Linked DNA regions of Homo sapiens: regions 2, 3, 4 and 5 are each linked to region 1. Evidence: promoter capture Hi-C in 16 types of primary human blood cells and fetal thymus (Javierre and others, 2016). All regions are on one chromosome and are shown on one strand. The core of a region is centred on a gene start or on the middle of the fragment in contact, and the rest is flanking DNA. Distances in the headings are between cores, read along the strand shown.

Region 1 (2,815 bases), core at 86-2,585:
GTTTTTTTTGTTTTTTTTTTTTTTGAGACAGAGTTTCGCTCCCAGGCTGGAGTGAAGTGGCGCAATCTCTGCTCACTGCAACCTCCGCCCCCCGGGTTCAAGTGATTCTACCGCCTCTGCCTCCTAAGTAGCTGGGATTGCAGCCAACATGCCCGGCTAATTTTTGTATTTTTAGTAGAGGCGGGGTTTTGCCACGTTGGCCAGGCTAGTCTCCAACTCCTGACCTCAGGCGATCGACCCGCCTTGGCCTCCCAAAGTGCTGGGATTACCGGCGTGAGCCACCGCGCCGGGCCCCATTTCTTTTCTTTCTGAGACGGAGTCTCTCTGTCGCCAGGCTGGAGTGCAATAGCGCCATCTCGGCTCACTGCAATCTCCGCCTCCCGGGTTCAACTGATTCTCCTGCCTCAGCCTCCTGAGAAGCTGGGATTACAGGCACGCGCCACCACGCCCGGCTGGTTTTTTGTATTTTTAGTAGAGACGGGGGTTTCACCATGTTGGCCAGGCTGGTCTTGAACTCCTGACCTCAAGTGATCCGCCTGCCTCGGCCTTCCAAAGTGCTAGGATTACAGGCGTGAGCCACCCATTTCTTAAAAAGTATATTTTAATGCTGGGGACGGTGGCTCATGCCTGTAATTCCAGTACTTTGGGAGGCCGAGGTGCGGGGATGCTTGAGCCCAGGAGTTGGAGACCAGCCGGGGTAACAGAGCGATAAAAAGAATAAACAAAAAACAACAGAACCCCGGCATATTTTTAAAAATGAGTTGTGTAATAGGATTTTTTTTTTTTCGGTGGAGATGTAAGTAAGCAAAGGAGATGTGCTACTAGTGATCAAAAGGGGATTATAAAACATTCATTCCCTAGACTTTTTTTGCACTTTAACATTCCTTTTTGGCAATTGGGCTCTCAGTCCCACGTGACCTGCCGCAGGGTTGCCATGGGGACCGGAAGAAACTTTTTTTTTTTAAAACAAAGTAAGGCTCCTGTCGCCCGAGGCACTAGAAAATCGAGGCCCCGCCCTCACTTGGCCAGGGGCCCGGGCGCGCAGCCCAGGGACTGGGAGCGGTGAGAAGCCGCACGCCTGGCGCTCGGCGGCGGGGGCGCGGCGCGCGGCCGGGAGCGCGCGTCACGTGGCTGGGGCGGGGCCTGCGCGCTGCCCGCCCGCCAGCTGCCGGCTCGGCCGCCGCAGCCGCGGCGTCCCATTCATGAGGGCCGCCCGACTCAGCTGCGGCCCAGGCGGCTTCCAAGGCAGCGGCGGCTGCGGGCGCTCCGACCCCGCGCGCGCCCCCGACCGGCCCCGCCCCCTCGGCTTCCCTCCCCGGCGGGTCCTAGCCGTCGCAGTCCAGCCGCCGCCTGCCCTCAGCCGCCCGCTGGCCGGGAGCGGAGCCCCTGTGGGTAAGTGGGCGCGGGCCGGGCTCCTCGCAGGCGTCCCTCCGGGGCTGGCGGTGAGTGTCTGCGCCTGGGGGCTTCCCTTGGCGCGGGCCCGGGGCTGTCCTGCCGGAGGCCGGGACCCTCCGGGGCGGCGCGGGTTGAGCCGCCCCTCCTCGCGCCGCGGTCCCCGCTTCCCGGTCCTCGCGTCCCAGTCCCCGCCTCGCCGCGACCGCGCCACGTAGACGCGGCCCCTACCGCCGCCGCCGCAGGACGGACCGGCGGGGTGCGCGGGGAGCCGGGGGCGTCGGGGCGTCAGTGGTGGCTGCTGAGGACTCTGAACCCGCGCAGTTCCCTCGCCGCCGCCCTGGGGATGGTTACCCGAGACCACCCCTACCCCTGGGTTTGGGGCGCGGAGGGGAGTGCGGAAGGCGCGCGGGAGGCCGCGTCTCCATCCCGCCCCCGGCCCTGCGGGAGGGGGCGCCGGGCACGTGATCTGCGGCGAGGCGGGGGCCGCCGAGTTGCTGGTGTTTCTTCCCCGCCGCGCTTTGCCCCGTACCTCCGCCTTCAAGCTGTGTGGACCGGATTCAAATGTGGTTAGTTTTCTCAAAGCCCCCCAGCCCCCGGTGCAGATCTTAATTTGTGAGGAACACGTTCAGATACAGTTTGTACTGAGAGCCTCTCTGTCCACTTCTAACGCCAGCGGATCACCATTTTCTCCACTCGCCTGAACATTTTAAGACTCTTTTCATTGAAAATTCAAGATGACATTTTTTAGGCATAATTATGCAAACCAGTACCAGAAAGATCACCCTTCCTTTCCGAAAAGTACTGGAACTCTGAATACTTGGAAATGCTTTGAAGGACTACTTAGTAAATGGCCAAACTAATTTTTAATGCACATTTGGGGCTTACCCATTTTTTTTTTAATTGAAAACGAGGCTCTAGACTTGGTGTCAAGGTAGGTCCTGTTGAATGAAGTTCTTTACCCAGTAGTGATGATGGGTGTTACTGTTTATTAAAACTTGGCCTGGCTAGATTATAATGTTTTGACAATACAAAGTCGGTTTTGAAATACATTTTGAAATATTTACGAATTATTTAGTGGCCCATACTGGTTTATGTTTTAACGGTCTGGTGTTGATCGTTCTTAGTGGCTTCAGATTGAGAAGAAGTGGCAGGTGATGCTGAAGCGGGGGAGAAGCGGCAGAGCCGGCCACACAGTGCAGGGGATGGAGACAGGTGCTGGGCTGGTCCTCCTGCAGCATCCTCAGTTGTTGGAGGGCAGTCATCCTCAGGCCGTACCCAGCCAGAGAAGAAAAAGAACAGTGTGAAGCCACGTGTGATAGCCGTCCAACATCGGCTCTTCCCTCCAATTACATTGTAGTTGATTGTGGTATGTCAGACTGAAGTATCTCTTTTATTTCGAGACAGAGTCTCACTCTGTCGC
Region 2 (2,815 bases), core at 108-2,607, 710 kb before region 1:
TTTGAGACAGAGTTTCCCTGTGTCACCTAGGCTGGAGTGCAGTGGTATGATTATAACTTACTGCAGCCTCCAGCTCCTGGACTGCGATCCTCCACCTCAGCCTCCTGAACTCAGGTAGCTGGGAATACAGGTGCACATCACCACGCCTGGCTAATTTTTTTTTCATTTTTTGAGATGGGATCTTGCTCTGTCACCCAGGCTGGAGTGCAATGGTGCAATCATGGCTCACTGCAACCTCCGCCTCAAGTGATCCTCCCACCTCAGCCTCCTGAGTAGCTGGGATTACAGGCACATGCCACCACACCCGGATAATTTTTTGTATTTTTGGTAGAGATGGGGTTTCACCATGTTGGCCAGGCTGGTCTCAAACTCCTGGGCTCCAGTGATCCACCCGCCTTGGCCTCCCAAAGTTCTGAGATTACAGGCATGAGCCACCACACCCAACAGATTCTCTGGTCTTTTAAGAAAATTCTTCACTTTGAAATTCCAAAGAAGCTTTGTGTAGCAATAATACAAGTTTTATAAAGAGTAAATAGGTTCATTTGCCACACTGTTACTCTTAAAGTTTGGCCTGTGTGCTATATTTTGCTCTGTTGCCCAGGCTGCAGTGCAGTGGTGTGATTATGGCTCACTGCAGCCTTAACCTCCCAGACCCAAGTGATCCTCTCACCTCAACCTCTAGAGTAGCTGGGACCACAGGCACATGCCACTGTGCCCGGCTAATTTTTAAAAAACAATTTGTAGAGGTAGAGACGAAGACTTGCTATGTTGCTCAGGCTGGTCTCAAACTCCAGAGTTCAAGTGATCCTCCCACCTCAACATCCCAAAGTGCTAGGATTACAGGTGTGAGCCACTATGCCCCACCAATACTCTAATTCTCTTATTAGAGGAATTTATTAAACAATGATGGAGTTGAACTGTTCTCCTCTCCTTCACATAGTTCAGGAAGGGGAGTAAGAACCTAGGGTACAGTGTCCCCCATGGGAAAGCAGTGCTTACCCTCTTGGATGTAGCTTGGGACCACAGTAACAGAAGTATTTACAGTTTGATTTTTGTAACAGGAGAAATCATATTTTCCTCTAAGTTGAGACACATTCTTCCATCTTCCTACCTTACACCCTCCCCCATTCCTGGCAGCTCTGAAACACTTGCTCAAGCCTTGCTTAATATAGCAAAAGCAGCTAATCTGTTGATCATCTGAGGTCAGAACTAACATTCAGAAAGTTCTCCTAAGGGTTTGGGTCTTCATTCCAAGTCAGTCATCCTACCCAGGAGACCACACCTCACCCACCTTCATGCACTCCACACTCCAATCCCACACACCTTGCTCCCCACTCCCCCCCCACACAAACCCTAAACCCTAAGCAGAATGACATTAAGATAATAATTTGTAATTGCAATACACACAGCAGGCATTCAAAAATGGAAGAAGAAAGGAAAAGCTGCAGAAAAATCTTTAAGTACTCCACAAACTGCACAAGCCACAGACGATTGAATAATCAAGCTGACTTTCCTAGGGAAAATAGCATTGCTATTAAAACAAGCTGAGTCATCAAATATTAGCAGTTATAAACAAACTTCTACATCATCCAGTCTAGTGGTCTGCAAACATACCCTATGGACCAAGTCCAACCTGCTGCCTGTTTTTGTAAATTAACTGTCATCAGGCATAACTCACACCCATTTGTTTACCTGCTATCTGTAAACAGAAGTTTCAGCGAATAGTTCCCTCTTTTAAAAGCAGAGTTGAATAGTTCCTGCAGAGTAGTCTCTGCAGGAATGTTTTGGCCCACAAAGCCAAATACATTTATGATGTGGCCCTTTACAGAGAAAGTCTGCTGCACCTATCTAATTCATCAAACCCATTCAAAGGTAAGGAAACTAAGGCCCAAAGTGGTGAACCTCCAACAGGAGGCAAAGTCAGAATAAGAAGCTCAGGTCTCTCAGTAAACAGCCCTTTGTTCCTTCGGTGCCCGGCTCTACAAATTATTTATTGCTTGAGTATGAAGTTAATCTGAACTTCAGTTTCTTCATGTATAAAATGAGATTACAATGCTGATCCTCTTCCCAGCATTAATGACCATTTTTGGAGAATTCTTAGAGTTCGGGGAAAGCTCAGTTCTTTCTGCCAAGCACCAAGTTAATTAATAGATCCTTGTTATAAAGCAGGGAGGCAAAGGTTCAGAAGTCAAAGGGACAGATATCAATCAGAAGCTTTCTGAACAAAGCACCTTTCTTTTCTATTCAAGATAAAATCAAATAATAAATATTCAGATATTGCCTGGACTGGTTCCTTGTCCCTCTGCTAATGAGTTTTCCTTCTTTGAATCTCTCCAAGTGGAACTGGAGACATCGCGTACTTCCACCCTTGCAGGCTCAGACGAAAGAAAAAAGAGCAAGATTTATGACACAACCTACTCCTTTTGTGAGGCAACTTATCCTTGTCTGCTGTTACATTGAAGGAAACTGACAGTGATGATTTGCAGGAGACTTTTGGTTATAACTTCTCCTTTCTTCTGTGGGGCACTCGAGGTAGGATTCCTCTATAATATTAGGAAGTCATAAAAATGCAAAAGTCCTATCAGGCACAGAGCAAGATTTAAAATCTGAAGAATACCATGTGCTTCCATCTCCTGCAGTTGTTTTGAAGTACATAAATCACCTCTTGGGAACGGAGTGCCAACCTTGAGGGGCTATGCCTCACAGACAGCCAACAAGCAAGTCCACCTTTGCCCACATTCGGGGTTATTGCATGGCAAACAGTGAAGGGGCTTCCAGGGTTTTCTGGCACACTGGCCTTAAAGGCTGTTGTAAG
Region 3 (2,815 bases), core at 141-2,640, 650 kb before region 1:
ACCCAGCTAATTTTTGTATTTTTAGTAGAGACGGGGTTTCACCATGTTGCCCAGGATGGCCTCGAACTCCTGGCCTTAGGTGATCTGCCTGCCTCGGCCTCCCAAAGTGCTGGGATTCCATGCGTGAGCCAGTGCACTGGGCCAAGCATTCTATTTCTCATTTATGGTGCGTCTATTTGCCACCACTGCTTCGACTGAGGATAGCTTGGCACAAGATGTGAAGCTTGTTTTGAAGGCCTGAGCAGAGATTTTTTTTTGCACAGTGGAGTCCAGTATTTTGCCAAAGGCACAGAAGAAGGTACGGAAGATGAAAAACTTTTCCCCAGCCTGGGCAACACAGTGAGACCCCCATCTCTACAAAAATTTGCAAATTAAAAAAATTAGCTGGGTGTGGTGGCATGTGCCTGTAGTCCTAGCTACTTGGAGGCTGAGGGGGGAGGATCACTTGAGCTCAGGACTTTGAGGCTGCAGTGAGCTATGATCACACCACTGCACTCCAGCCTGGATGACAGTGTGAGACCCTGTCTCTAGAAAACATGGAAGGAAGGAAAGAAGAAACGAAGGAAGGAAAAACTGTTCCTTTACCCTCTTAAGTTCAGTGTTTTGGGGGCTGCAAAAGAAAAGACAGGCTTCTGTTCATTATGTATGGGAGTTCTCAGGAAAATATGCCTCAAGGGGGCACTTACAATTTGGGGCTTATGTGCCATCTGAACAAGAGAAGGGGAGGAGGAGAAGGGCACTTAAGGAAAAATAAATTACTTTTAAGAAAGATCATGGGCCTTTAGGAGAATAGATGGGAGATGATAGTTTTGTGACAATGCCTGTTTAGGTGTGCTGTGGGCTTCTCTTTGGTATTAGAGTCAACTTTCTCTGGTTGCAGAAAAATCTGTGGGAAGGGATTTATGACAATTGAGTTTTGGGAGGAGGTTCTGCTTTGGGGCAGATAAGGAGTTTAGAAATAAGCCTCTTATCAAATGCCTTCAGCTCAAAATCATTTTTATGCCACAGTGGCATATTCTAGAGGAACCTGGGCCAAGGAAGACCACCCTTGGCCTTACTCCTGGAGTCATTCCGGCTCTGGCCTAGCCTTGGGGGTGGAACTCTGCCCTGGTGTGGACAAGAATGGACCCTCTCAGGCCCCAGCATATTCTCAGAGGTCCAGTCACACCGACCTGGAAGTGTCAGAGATGTACTTAATTCTAGGTTTGCACTGAGGCCAGGTAGAAACCGCAGTACCTGGAGCATTTCTTTGTGTTTTGGGGTTTTAATAGACTTGGCCAGGAACCAAGTCCAAGCCCTTTCAACATCACAGAATGTTTTTTAATCTTCCCTAGTCCACCGGAGTGGAAAACTCACATAGTTCTCATCATTCACAAACACTTAAAGGGTGTTTACTAGGTACTAGATGGTATATGCTACTATTATCAGCCTCATTTTGTAAGTGGAGGAGACAAAGAAAGGTTAAGAGGGTTTTCCAAGTTCACATGGATGGTAAGCAGCACAGTCAATATTTGTTGACTGTGAGGCCGAGGCAGGTGGATCGTTCGAGGTCAGGAGTTTGAGACCAGCCTGGCCAACATGGTAAAACCCCGCCTCTACTAAAAGTACAAAAATAAGCTGGGTGGTGGTGGCGCATGTCTGTAATCTCAGCTACTCAGAAGGCTGAGGCAAGAGAATCGCTTGAGTCTGGGAGGTGGAGGTTGCAGTGAGCTGAGATGCACCACTGCACTCCAGCCTGGGCAACAGAGTGAGACCCTGACTCCCAAAAAAAAAAAAATTGACAAATTAGCAACCGGGCACAGTGGCTCAGGCCTGTAATCCCAGAGCTTTGGGAAGCCAAAGCAGGAGGATCACTTGAGGTCAGGAGTACCAGCCTGGACAACACAGTGAGACCTCATCTCTAAAACAAAACAAAAAAATTTAAAAATAAGAAAATTAGCAGGGTGTAGTGGTGGGCGCCTGTAGTTGCAGCTACTACGGAGGCTGAGGCAGGAGGCTCCCTTGAGCCTAGGAGTTCAAGATTGCAGTGAGCTATGATTGCACCACTGCACTGCAGCTTGAATGACACAGCAAGACCCTATCTCTAAAACAAATTTAAAAATTGTTTAAAAAAAAACTTTTTAAATTGACAGATTAGAATCTGATCAGTTTCTTTCCAGAGCTACTTGAACATCTCAGGAGATTCTGCTAAGGATGGAAAAGGAAGGAGTTTTAATTTCAAAGTTTCATTCCATGTCTTGTCAAACCAAGTCTAGATTTGCCATTTAGAACTGCATTCTCTGATCCTGTGTTTTAAGAGAGGTTTCTCCATGTAGATGAAACCAGGAGCTGCATCCTTCCTCGGATTGGTAGGTGTTCCATGGGCTTTATCTGTGCGGCGTAATGACAGCACACAAACGCCAGGGGGCAATGCAGTTTCACCGAAGAATCCTAGGAAACTCGGGTCTGGCTTTGACTAAGAACATTGGCAGGATCCTGGGGCAAAGGTGGAAATCCTTACTAAAAAGAGTTCCGCCAAGGAAAAAATATGTTTAAAAATCCTTTCTTTGAAAGCTTCCTGCATTGTCATCAAAATTGCCCTTCAGTATTTGTGCACAGCTGGAAGTTTTGTGATATTATTTGCAAAAGATTTACTTTTCGTTTTTTCTCAATGCGGCTGCCTAGTCTTTCCTGGAAGGTTTCCTGGGTCTTTCTGCGTAGGAAGGATTATTCTAACCAGCTCTCGGGTAGCCTGGATCACATTGTTAGGACTCTGTTGCGTCCTCTGCCTGACCGCGGGGCTCTCTTCCCCCGGTGCCCATTCAGCGCTTCCAGC
Region 4 (2,815 bases), core at 204-2,703, 620 kb before region 1:
ATTTATTTACTTATTTGAGACAGGATCTTGCTTTGTTGCCCAGGCTGGAGTACAGTGGTGCAATCACGGCTTACTGCAGTTTCTACCTCTCAGGCTCAAGCAATTCTCCTGCCTCAGCCTCTCGAGTAGCTGGGACTATAGGCACACGCCACCATGCCTAGCTAATATTTTTACTATTTGTAGAGTCAAGGTCTCACTATGTTGCCCAGGCTGGTCTTGAACTCGGAGCTCAAGTGATCCTCCTGCCTCAGCTTCCCAAAGTGCAAAGATTACAGACATGAGCCACCACAACTGTCCAGAATATTTTTTAAAAGACAGAATTAAAAATACATATAACCCAGTAGAAGTCAGGAGTTAAAGTGTTTTAAGTACCTTGTATTTTCTAAGAAAAGGTTAAGGGTATTAAGTCTAGATATTAGTAAGTTAAATATGTGGATTAGAATTTCTAGACTAACTCCTAAAGTCATATAAAAAGAGTCAGCCAGGCACGGTGGCTCACACCTGTAATGCCAGCACTTTGGAAGGCCAAGGTGGGCAGATCACCTGAGGTCAGGAGTTCAAGGCTAGCCTGACCAACATGGTGAAACCCCATCTCTACTTAAAAAAAAAAAAAAATTAACTGGGCGTGCTGGCACATGCCTGTAGTCCCAGCTACTTGGGAGGCTGAGACAGGAGAATTGCTTGAACCCAGCAGGCAGAGGATGCAATGAGCCGAAATTGCACCACTGCACCCCAGCCTGGGCGACAGAAGGAGACTCAGTCTCATAAAAAAAATAAAAATAAAAAATAAATAAAAAGATTCAAAACTGCAAATTAGAAAGGTGTCAATTCACTTAAAACTGATCTATAAATTTAATGCAATATCAACCAAAAACCTGAATTTTGTTGTTGTTGTTGTGTTTTAGTTTTTGCAAAGTGCCACATACAGCCAAGATACTCTTGAAAAGCAGCAAAATTAGAGGATTTGCCCTATTGAGCATCAAGATTCATAATTAGCCTATAGTAATAAGACATGGTGTTAGCACAAGGACAGGGCAGTAGCCCAACAGAACAGACTACAGATTACAGAAATAGTCCCGTGCTCATATGGAAGCTTGAGAGGCATCTTTGCAATTCAGTGGGGAAGGGACAATATTCAGTAGATGGTGCTGTCACTGAGGAGTATTTATTTGGAAAAAAAATAAAATAAAATTGGACTATACCTTTGTATTAGCCAGGGTTCTTCAGAGACACAGAGACAACAGGAGAGAGAGAAAGACAAAGATTTATTATAGGGAATTGGGGCACACAGTTATAGAGGCCGAGAATTCCCAAGATCTCGAGTCATCAAGCTGAGGACCCAGGAGACCTGATGTGTACTTCCAGCTTGAATCCAGGAGCCTGAGAACCAGGAGAGCTGATGGATAGTTTCAGTCTGAGGACCTGCAGGCTCACAACCCAAGGAGGACCAATGTTTCAGGCCAAGTCTGAAGGCTGGAAAAAACCGATGCCCCAACTTAACCAGTCGGACAGGAGAAATTCTCTCATATTCAGTCTTTTTATTCTATTCCGGTCTTCAATTGATTGAATGAGGCCCAACCACACTGGGGAGAGCAATCTGCTGTACTCAGTCTACTGATTCCAATGTAATACTCTCACTTGGAAGCACCATCACAGACACACACAGAATAATATTTGGCCAAATGTCTGGGTACCACATGGCCCAGTCAAGTTGACACATAAAATTAACCATTACAACTTTATACTCCAGCCCTCCTAAGCAATTCTAGTTGAATTTAAGACCTAAATGTGAAAGGCCAAACAATAAAGCTTCCCAAAATGATATGGGGGTAGGGGAAGTTTCTGAAATAAAATATGAAGAGCATGAAAATTTTTAAAAAGATTGCTACATTTGCCTATTGTGTTCAAACTTTGCCCTTCACAAGAAAGGGACATCGAAATATCAAAACCTGCAAAAAGTGCTCATCTCATTAGGAATCCAAAATAAGTAAATTAAATCCACAGTGAGATACCAATACACACCTACCAGGTTAGCAAAAAATTATTTCATTATTTTTTATTTATTTTTATTTATTTATTTATTTATTTTTTGAGACAGAGTCTCACTCTGTTGCCCAGGCTGGAGTGCGGTGGCGCGATCTCGGCTCACTGCAAGCTCCGCCTCCCGGGTTCACGCCATTCTCCTGCCTCAGCCTCCCGAGTAGCTGGGACTACAGGCGCCCACCAACACGCCCGGCTAATTTTTTTGTATTTTTAGTAGAGACAGGGTTTCAGCGTGTTAGCCAGGATGGTCTCGATCTCCTGACCTCGTGATCCGCCCGCCTCAGCCTCCCAAAGTGCTGGGATTACAGGGTTGAGCCACCGCGCCCAGCCTATTTTTTATTTTTATTTATTTGTTTGTAGACAGAGCCTCACTTTGTCACTCAAGCTGGAGTGCAGTGCCACAATCATGGCTCATTGCAGCCTCAACCTCCCAGGTTCAAGTGATCCTCCCACCTCAGCTATTTATTTTTTTAGAGATGGCGTCTTGCTGTGTTACCCAGGCTAGTCTCAAACTCCTGTCTTGGCCTCCCAAAGTGCTGGGATTGTAGGTGTGAGCCACTGTGCCTGGCCACAAAAAATTATAAAGTGTAACAATATCAAATGTTGGCAAAGATATGCAGCAGCAATAGGAATTCTCATGCACTGTTATGGGAGTGTATGTTGGGACAATATCCACATTTTTAAAAATATTATTTGACATTATGAAGAAACTCATAGCAAACAACCCGAACATTTTCTAGAAAAGTCTTTTACTTGTGTGCCAAATACAGGA
Region 5 (2,815 bases), core at 192-2,691, 560 kb before region 1:
CAACTTCTTTTACAATTTTGAAAGCCACTTTATAAATTTAAGTAGATTACCCTAGATACAATACATAAAAGATGCCATTTGCCAATATTTGGAGCTAAGAGTAAAAAATCACAGATAAATTTATATACAATGACTAAAGCTTAGAAGATGCTAATACTTGATGCAAATGAGCTGGCAGTTCTAGGACCAGTGGGGATGAGGCTTGGACCAGGCAGAGAACAATATCCTCCATTCTTGTTCTGATGAACCCTCCTTCTTTTCTGTCTCCTCTTTTTCATGCATTGAGGATCGTGCTTCTTCAGGGAAATAACTACCATGCGTCTTCTGAACAAATTTCATTGGATAGTTTTATACCACCGCATAGTAGAAGACACAACATCCTACTTTGGCTGACATCCTAAGCGTTTTTAATTTACAAAAGTGTAGTCATATGGAATTGGTTAAAATCTCATCCAGGAAATCACAGACCAGGCTCACTTCTTAAACAGAGACAGTTTAATACACAAAATTGGTTACACAGGTATGGGAAGACTGAGAGAGCAATAAAAGGAACAAGAAGGAAAAGGTGGGGTTACCAGAAGTTTAGGAGCTCAGAAGAAAGGCCTGGGGTAGCCCGTGCTCAGACTGTGAGGTGGCAGGGTCACGTGGTGCTGGGACTTCAGAGTGGTGCAGAGCAGCTGGTGCATGGGCTGTTGAAAGGAGCTGAAGGGCCAGGCACGGTGGCGCACCCCTGTAATCCCTGCACTTTGGGAGGCCGAGGTGGGTGGATCACCTGAGGTGAGGAGTTTGAGACCAACCTGACCAACATGGTGAAACCCCATCTCTACTAAATAAAAAAATTAGCTGGGTGTGGTGGTGCATGCCTGTAATCTCACCTACTTAGGAGGCTGAGGCAGAAGAATCACTTGAACCTGGGAGACGGAGGTTGCAGTGAGCCGAGATTGTGCCATTGCACTCCAGCCTGGGCAACAAGAGTGAAACGCCGTCTCAAGAAAAAAAAAAAGGCCGGGCGTAGTGGCTCACGCCTGTAATCCCAGCACTTTGGGAGGCCAAGGTGGGCGGATCACCTGAGGTTGGGAGTTCGAGATCAGCCTGACCAACATGGAGAAACGCCATCTCTACTAAAAATACAAAAAATTAGCCGGGCATGGTGGTGCATGCCTGTAATTCCAGCTACTCGGGAGGCTGAGGCAGGAGAATCGTTTGAACCTGGGAGGCGAAGGTTGCAGTGAGCCAAGATCGCGCCATTGCACTCCAGCCTGGGCAACAAGAGCGAAGCTCCATCTCAAAAAAAAAAAAAAAGGAGCTGGAGCTGGCTGCGCTGGCTCATGCCTATAATCCCAGCACTTTGGGAGGTCAAGGCAGGCGGATCACAAGGTCAGGAGTTCAATACCAGCCTGGCCAAGATGGTGAAACCCAGTCTCTACTAAAAATACAAAAAAATTAGTTGGGCATGGTGGTGGGCACCTGTAATATCAAGTACTCGGGAGGCTGAGACAGAGAATTGATTGAACCCTGCAGGCGGAGGTTGCAGTGAGCCGAGATCGCGCCACTGCACTCCAGCCTGGGCGACAGAGCAAGACTCCGTCTCAAAAAAAAAAAAAAAGGAGTTGGAGGGTGGAGCCATAGCTACCTTCACATGCAAGAGTGATGCCAGAAGAAGGTGGAAACAGGAAGGAAGTTTCTTCTCTTCTTCCACCTTCCTTTGTTAGAACACAGCTGGAAACCAGCTGACAAGGAGGCCTAGGAAATGTAGTTTGGGAGTCCTGGCCGCAGTGTCGAAGAGCAGCTAAATGTAGAAGATGGGCTCGAGGCTGCTAGACAGTAAGCAAATCACCAAAACAAAGCTCTTTGTCTGATATAATAAATAAATGTGCTGTTTCCTTCAATCAGCATGTGTGTTAAAAGACCTAAAATGGACATGATCCGTGTGCAGTCTTGATTCCTATGTTCTTATGGGAGCACCTTGTGGCACTCTGCTTCTAGAATATTTAAAGATATAAATTTCTGTATAATATGGCACCAAAACAAGTCAAGTACTTTATCTGGTGTTTTTCTTGATACCCTAGTGCTGGGGGTGATGGGGGCATTGTGGGGACTGGCTGCTCTGGATTTAGAGCAAAGTTGTATGTCTAAACTAAAAGTCATAGGCACCTTTAGGATAAATTTTTTTTGTTTTCTTATAATTACAAAGTGAGTAATTCATGTATACAGGATTATTATAAAGAGTTCGTACAGTACAGGAGTGTATAGAGCAAAATATGAGATTTCCCCTTCTTTCCCACTCCCACCTCGTATTCCTACTGTACTCCCCAAAGGTGACCCCTGGCAACAGTTGGTTACATTGTCTTTTAGTCTCTCAAGAGTAATTCTGACTACAGATGAGTTTCATGTACTACCTTTAGGCCCTGACCCCTCTACTTCCTGATGGTACATTATGATTTCCATATATTATCATTTAACTCAATTTGCAAAACAGATGAAAAGAACAGCTTAATCTTCACATTATATGAAATGCAATGGCTTTCTCTATTCTTTGAATTAAAAATAAAAGAAAATTTAGTTATTTTAGATCATACTCTTAAGACTTATTTATTTCCTTTAATACCTGTCCAAGTGTACAGATATATATTAATATTTTATGCTTATGTGAAGAAATAAGTCCAACTGCAGATAATGAAACTTGTCTCTGCCAAGTAAAGTACAAACCAAAGGAATGGTTACTATTTGAAAGAAAGCTTTGAAAAATAAAAAGGCCCATGCATGGTGGCTCACGCCTGTAATCCCAGCACTTTGGGAGGCCTAGGTGGGCAGA

What was found. Contacts are between HindIII fragments. The CHiCAGO score rates a contact against its expected background, and 5 or more counts as called.
Region 2: a fragment that was not itself captured here is called in contact with the fragment with the promoter of LPIN2 in region 1 in 1 of 17 cell types (monocytes); the score reaches 6.8 in monocytes.
Region 3: a fragment that was not itself captured here is called in contact with the fragment with the promoter of LPIN2 in region 1 in 9 of 17 cell types (total B cells, naive CD8 T cells, naive B cells and 6 more); the score reaches 15.7 in total B cells.
Region 4: a contact is called between a fragment that was not itself captured here and the fragment with the promoter of LPIN2 in region 1, in 2 of 17 cell types (activated CD4 T cells and total B cells). The highest score is 6.1, in activated CD4 T cells.
Region 5: a contact is called between a fragment that was not itself captured here and the fragment with the promoter of LPIN2 in region 1, in 1 of 17 cell types (naive CD8 T cells). The highest score is 5.2, in naive CD8 T cells.

The regions. Positions count from the first base shown.
Region 1 is chr18:3,011,664-3,014,478 of GRCh38, reverse strand. It overlaps LPIN2 (lipin 2), which reads left to right and starts at 1,335. Exons shown (of 20, transcript NM_001375808.2): 1 at 1,335-1,392. RefSeq lists a silencer at 945-1,894. The HindIII fragment of the contact is 8,581 bases long and covers 1-2,815 here.
Region 2 is chr18:3,722,093-3,724,907 of GRCh38, reverse strand. The region is part of intron 7 of DLGAP1 (DLG associated protein 1); the gene reads left to right. Among named protein-coding and RNA genes, the nearest start is that of DLGAP1-AS6, 70 kb to the right of the region's middle. The HindIII fragment of the contact is 1,719 bases long and covers 498-2,216 here.
Region 3 is chr18:3,666,044-3,668,858 of GRCh38, reverse strand. The region is part of intron 7 of DLGAP1 (DLG associated protein 1); the gene reads left to right. Among named protein-coding and RNA genes, the nearest start is that of DLGAP1-AS6, 14 kb to the right of the region's middle. RefSeq lists a silencer at 2,796-2,815. The HindIII fragment of the contact is 2,330 bases long and covers 226-2,555 here.
Region 4 is chr18:3,628,948-3,631,762 of GRCh38, reverse strand. The region is part of intron 7 of DLGAP1 (DLG associated protein 1); the gene reads left to right. Among named protein-coding and RNA genes, the nearest start is that of DLGAP1-AS6, 23 kb to the left of the region's middle. The HindIII fragment of the contact is 716 bases long and covers 1,096-1,811 here.
Region 5 is chr18:3,575,054-3,577,868 of GRCh38, reverse strand. The region is part of intron 8 of DLGAP1 (DLG associated protein 1); the gene reads left to right. Among named protein-coding and RNA genes, the nearest start is that of DLGAP1-AS1, 18 kb to the left of the region's middle. RefSeq lists enhancers at 901-1,400, 1,401-1,902. The HindIII fragment of the contact is 2,599 bases long and covers 142-2,740 here.